2 separate regions of the Homo sapiens genome follow, and region 2 is linked to region 1. Evidence: promoter capture Hi-C in 16 types of primary human blood cells and fetal thymus (Javierre and others, 2016). All regions are on one chromosome and are shown on one strand. Each heading gives the region's core, a stretch centred on a gene start or on the middle of the fragment in contact. The rest is flanking DNA. Distances are from core to core; before and after follow the strand shown.

What was found. Contacts are between HindIII fragments. The CHiCAGO score rates a contact against its expected background, and 5 or more counts as called.
Region 2: a contact is called between a fragment that was not itself captured here and the fragment with the promoter of AP1G2 in region 1, in 7 of 17 cell types (megakaryocytes, activated CD4 T cells, naive CD4 T cells and 4 more). The highest score is 6.4, in megakaryocytes.

The regions. Positions count from the first base shown.
Region 1 is chr14:23,566,108-23,569,259 of GRCh38, reverse strand. AP1G2 (adaptor related protein complex 1 subunit gamma 2) reads left to right here and starts at 1,469. Exons shown (of 22, transcript NM_003917.5): 1 at 1,469-1,521; 2 at 1,941-2,149; 3 at 2,574-2,698; 4 at 2,841-2,982; 5 at 3,100-3,152. The coding sequence starts at 1,946. It overlaps JPH4 (junctophilin 4), which reads left to right. Exons shown (of 6, transcript NM_001146028.2): 6 at 1-1,222. It overlaps AP1G2-AS1 (AP1G2 antisense RNA 1), which reads right to left. Exons shown (of 4, transcript NR_110555.1): 3 at 1,838-3,152; 4 at 1,184-1,571. RefSeq lists silencers at 278-377, 1,367-1,416 and enhancers at 1,897-2,136, 2,167-2,256. The HindIII fragment of the contact is 3,957 bases long and covers 1-1,968 here.
Region 2 is chr14:23,481,405-23,484,448 of GRCh38, reverse strand. No RefSeq gene overlaps it. Among named protein-coding and RNA genes, the nearest start is that of NGDN, 13 kb to the right of the region's middle. RefSeq lists enhancers at 864-1,620, 1,621-2,378. The HindIII fragment of the contact is 5,436 bases long and covers 1-3,044 here.

The DNA.
Region 1 (3,152 bases), core at 220-2,719:
GTGGGGGTTTGGTGTCCTAAGGAGACTCCTGGAAGCTGAATGGAGAGGAGGAAGAAAATGAAGAAGGAGTGATTGAATGTCGGGCAAGGCACTGGCTGAGCTGCTGTGGCTCCCTAGCCTAAGGGGCCTGCTGTCCCTCTGAGGCCTAGTGAAAAAGCTGCAGGAGGTGCATCCTCCACCTCTAATCTTGGAGGCTATTATCTTACCTCCAAGCACTGAGCTGGGTTACTGCCCAATTCCATCCTTCCCTGAAGGAGAGAAGGGAAGTGAAAAGTAGAGTAACTCCCCAGCATTTCCCTCTTTTTCTCCTCATCGGCCAGCCCCTCCTCCAGCCCCCTCTGGTGGCATGCCATGCCAAGAGCAACGTGTAAAGGAACAGAGAATATCCAATGCAGTCAAGTCCACCCTGCCCAGACTTTGCCACTGACTTCTCCCACCCTTCTGTCTCCCCCATAATAGTTTATTTGGTTGGTCTGGACTCACTTGTGGCCTTTGATTAAATTCCTAAGGGGCCTGAAGAAGACATTTCTACTGCAGAGGGTTAGAGGCACTTGAGCAAGGCCCCCACATCCCAACTCTGGGAGTTGTGGTGGGAGGAGGCACTTCTGGGGGATAGGACCAGACAAGATAACAGGAGCTCACATGGAAGCAGAAGCTGTGACAAGTTTAGTAGTCCCAAAATGGGTTATATCCCTTCCCCCTTTACATCAGAATCTTGTGAAATGGGAAAACAACAGAAGGAGGGGATCAAAGATAGCTGATCTCACATGCTTCCCAGGCAGGGCAGAGGTGGGAGTCAAACCCGGGTGACAGGTGGGTGGAGAGCCCTGTTTGAGGTTGTGGCTGATCCCTCTCTGGTATTAGTTTTTCCCCTGGGAGCAGGAAGCCCTAGGAAGAGGGGACTGCAGGGTCCCCAGGGGATCTTTCCTCCCTCCCCTGCATGAGGCAGAGGCAAGCTGCCTGCCAACCCCCTCCCTCAAGGAATGGCCTTGCCCAGGAATGCCCACCACACATACCCTCTTCTTTTTTTCTAGTCAAACTCTTGTTTATTCCTTGGCTTGCCTCCCTCCTTCCTCCCCTCTCAACCTTTACTTCTGATTTCTATTTCATGGAATTTGGGATTGAAGTTAAACTACAACAGTGCCGCCAACACCAAGTCTTGCAGGAAAAAAATACAAAGAAATTTAACAAAAAAAATATATTAATAAAAAAGTTCAAAAAAGGGGGGGGATTGTCATCTCCTTTGGGGTGCGATGGCTTCAAATCCAAACTGAGGCTCTCCGGGTGGTAAGGATGTGCGAGGAGGCCTCTTGAAGAACTCCAGGCCTATCATGCTGTCTCTCCGCTAAAGCCTGAGGCCCGAGGTCAGAGGATTCAGGAAGGCTCTGCAGTCGGCCCAGGAGGGCGGGGTCCCGTGGTGGAGGCGGGGAGAGGGAAGGACCGCACGGAGCACCAACCCCTGCTCGGCCCCGTACCAGGAAGCGCTGGGGGGCAGAGGAGCGGAGTTGAGGCAGAAGCCAGGTGAGGCTGGAGTCCTGGGGTAGGCAGGCTGTCGCTGCCGCTGCCGCTGCCTGAGATGGAAATCGGGGGAGGAAGCTCGCGGAAGAAACAGCGGAGGGTCGTGGAAAAAAAAGCAATGGCTGAGCTAGGGATGGGGTACCAGGTAGGGGGAGGAAACGGTAGAGAGAAATAGGTGGGGCTCCCGCGCATGCTCAATAGGAAGGGGCGCCGGTGGGGTGCGGACGCATGCGTAGTGGGCTTCTCGGGCGGTGGGGTGGGCGCGGAATTTGGAGACCCACTTCGGGAAAGGTAAAATGCGGGCGCAATTTTAGGGTACCTGTGGGACCCGGGCTCTTAGGGTCTTGACACAGGACGGGCCTGGGCCGAAAGCCCAGGCACGCCCGACCAGAGAGTGTTTCTCCACTCCCGGACTCTGCCAGTCAGGATGGTGGTGCCTTCGCTGAAGCTTCAGGACCTCATCGAAGAGATTCGCGGGGCCAAGACTCAGGCCCAGGAGCGGGAGGTGATCCAAAAGGAGTGTGCCCACATCCGGGCCTCCTTCCGCGACGGGGACCCAGTGCACAGGCACCGGCAGCTGGCCAAACTGCTCTACGTCCACATGTTGGGCTACCCCGCCCACTTTGGACAGGTACTGGCCAGGAATACCTCCCTCCTGAGCTTGATGAAGGCTAGTGGGGCAGAGTCCCAGACTCTCTCACCTGTTTATGCCCTGGTTTTTTAAATTCTACAATTTCAGAGTCTTCACAGCCTGCACTGCAAACCTCTTTCCCCATTGCTACCCCTACTGGTCATCAGCTGGCCTGAACCCTTCATTCTCTGGCCAGCCTCCTTTAGGGCAGGCATCTCCTCCTCTCCGCTCCCATCCTCCTCAACTCCTAGTTCCTCCTACCCACTAACGCCTGAATTTCCTAAGCTTCTCCTCTTGTTGAAGGGAGAGTGATGAGATATGATGCCCCACAGGTTAATCTGGTTTTAAAGAGGAAGATGGAACAGGGATGTGAGTGTCTATGGTTTCACCCCTGCCTCTTCCTGGTCTGCCCCCTTCACTATAGATGGAGTGCCTGAAACTGATCGCCTCCTCCAGATTCACAGACAAGAGGGTGGGCTACCTGGGGGCCATGCTTCTATTGGATGAGAGGCACGATGCCCACCTGCTCATTACCAACAGCATCAAGAAGTGAGAGGGTTCTGGCAATCACTTGGAATCAGGGAGATGGGAGAGTAGGGACCTTGGAAATCCCAGGGGACTGCCTGTTGTGGGTATTGAAAAGGACTGATTTTCTCAGAGGTTTGACTGACCGTCCTCCCAAACCCTGCAGTGACCTGAGCCAGGGGATTCAGCCAGTACAAGGCCTGGCCTTGTGCACTTTGAGCACCATGGGCTCTGCTGAGATGTGCCGAGACCTGGCCCCAGAGGTGGAGAAACTGCTCCTGCAGCCCAGTCCCTACGTGCGCAAGAAGGTGAGATGGCGGGACTCCTGGCACGTGCTCCTGCACACTGCCTGCTGCGTGCTATATAGTAGTAGATGCAGGGGTCCATCTCCTCTGACCCCTGTCTGAGGCCCCTGACCTCTGCAGGCTATTCTGACTGCAGTGCACATGATCCGGAAGGTCCCTGAACTCTCCAGTGT
Region 2 (3,044 bases), core at 34-2,533, 85 kb after region 1:
GGTCTCCAAAATAAAGTTAAGAAGCGAGATGAGGCAAGAGCTAACAGTCTAAAGAGTTTGGGCATATTCTGGAAAGGCTAAGCAATACAGGGCACTGTGGGCTGAATGGGGCAACCAGGTAAATTCAGCTGTGATAAAGGAACAACATGGAATGACAAAAAAAGGAGGCAGACTACAAGAGTGAGCCAAGGTCCTGCAGCCAGAATTGTGCTCAGCAGTGACCAGAGAGCCAGGATGTCCATCACATAAGTGTCACAACTGTCCTGGAAAGAACCTTCTGAGGACACAAAAGATCAGTAACAGGACATCTCCTCCAGTCTTCAAAACACAGGATAACGAAAGTAGAGGTATCCTTAGCAATCTAATCCAAAAGTTTCTGGATGAGCCATTATTATCTGAATTCTTGCTATTCCCTAGCTCCCATTTTCCCAGCATGTAGAACCCAAATCTGTAGATTCAGATAACACAGGATCGATCGCTTGCCAAGTGAACTCTCCTTATCCAAATCCAGGAACTGAATAGATGCAGACAGCAAAGGATATCTTCTGTCTCCCATCATGTTTCCCCTGTAGAGCCTCGTCATTCTCCCACCTACTCTTCGGTACTGACCCCTCAGTTCTCCTCACCCTGTTCTCTTCTAAGCCACCCTCATCTACAGCCCCCTTTCATTGGGAGAGTCATCTGTAAGATGTCAGGGGTAGAACAGATAACGAAAAAGGGAGTAGGGAAGAGTGTAGATTTCAGGTAGGGAAGTGAGATGGAGATCCTGCAGACAGAGAAAGAGAGAGACAGAAAGCAAGAGAGCCGGAGCTGGGGGAGGGGAAGAAGATGGCACTGCGGAAAAAAGAGCGCCACAAAATTAATTTGAGGAAGGGAACAGTAGAGGAGACGTTGGTGGAATAACAATCAGGCAGTAGAGGGCTGGGGAAAGGGGGAGGGCGACAGGGTGGGGAGGAATGATGTTGGCCGGGAGGGCCCTGCCTGCAGAGCAACAGCAGCACCACCTATGGGTATGGTGAAGGGCTACAGGCTGCAACAAAAGAGGTTCCCGCCTAGGCATGGGAGTCTGGGGTGCAGGTGGGGAGGAAGAAGCCATGGCTTTTGCCATTCAAATCTCTTGGTTACACAACATGCAGGCTAGAAGAATAAATAGTATATGGCTTTCCTGGGAAGAGAGGGACTTAAGGTAAGGGAGGGAAGACAGAGAACTCCTGGCTTTTTCCATTACAAGGGGGTTTCCCCTTCAGAATTCAGGCAGTAGAAAAGAGAAGAATATGAAGAGGGAGGAACACCAGGTACTGAAAGGAATGTGAGCACCTGCTTATTTCATTACCTGGAGAAAGGATTTTTATCTTTATTTCCAAGTGATTTCCTCTCCCCACTGGATATAAGAGAATACAGCTGCCTCCCTGGGGCCATGAATGCCCCTCACTCAGCTGCTTCCTCCCAGCACTGCCTCAAAACTCCCAACCACCATTAGAAACCCCCAGGGAGCCACCAAGGTCTAAGAAGGAAAGAAGGGAAGGGTTCCCCCCACCAAACAGACCAAGTGGGGGAGGACAGGGTGGAATGAAAGAGAGAATGCAAAAGCTCTGCAGAGGGAGGGGAGAGAGAAATGTGATCAGTAGTATTTGTTGTGCTTCCAGGGAGGAAGGATCTGTCACATTTTTAATAATAATAAATACATGAAGACAGATTTGCCAGCACTGCTCTGGCTTCTTGGGAAGTGTGGGGGAGGGGAAGTAATGCAGCTGCAGCACACACCAATATCTCCCCCTCCCCTCCCCCATTAGATAGGCTCAGTATTGCAGCAGCCTCCCCCTCCCCCTCTAACCGCAGTCCTCCCCTTCACAGCCCACCCTTTCCACGGTCCCGTCACACAGTTCTGCCCCTCCTTCCCCTACTTGTATCTCTACTCACTCCAACCCCACTCTGTCCTTTCAGTGCTGGTCCTCATTTAACACATGCTTACTCTAGCTGGAAGAAACCTTAGCACCTACATCTTAGATGAATGAATCTGTTCCCCCAATCCTGAGGCTCTGCTGTTTCCAATCAGTGCCCTTCACTAGCTGACAGCAATCTTCCCCTACACCCCACACAACACTCCCACAGATGTAATCCAGCACATTTCAGCATTTCCTGGATTCCACCAAAAAGGATTGCTTTTCTCCCCGTTTTAATCTCAATGTGACCTCCTTTCTCACATCCTTCCTTAAATATAATGGCCATCAAATGTGTTTGTGTTTAGGGGGTGTCAGGGCCTCAGGACTCAGTGACTACTGCCACCTATTGACCCAAGTTTGTTCACGATAGACCTTTAATACACTTCTTACACAGCGACGCTCTGTCATCTCAAAAGCATCAATAGCTTAAACATGCAAAGGCATGGCTCTGGGGGCTTCTCTGAGACCCTCTGAACAATGAGATCAAAGAAACACAAAAGCAAGACTGGGCAGAGAGCCAGAGCATTGATGCCTTTCCTCATGCAGAGGCAGAAAACGAGGCCCAAGGAATGAAAAAGCAACTTTAAGTCCCCTCAAGGTTCTCTAAGCAAAGATGAGTAGGGAACAGAGTTTTTCTTAAGGGCTGGTAAAAATTTCATGTATCATAATATAAATGATAAATGATGTTACCAATGGAGCAGGAGGCAGGATTCCACTCACATACCTCCATCAAGTTAGCCAAATCCTTGGCATGAATCTGGGATTTATGGACCTAAAAGATTCCAGGGAGGATGGGGGACACTCAGGGGTGTGTTTGACTCTCATCCAATCTGTACCAATCAGAACTGGAGACTGGACAAACTGGGCTCTGAAAAAGGGCAGGTCTACACCACGCAGCTCTATGGTTTAGCTGTGTCCCATTCACCAAACCAAGGAATGAGGAGCGTTTGAACTCTCCATGGTGCTGAAAATTGACACACTAATAATCTCCCCTGCAAACAAAACACAGTTTTCCTAATAAGGTATCTATGAAGACTGTTGTGAATTCCCAATAGACATTTCCCCAAGCCTTCATAAAATCCTAACAAAACAATGATTTTA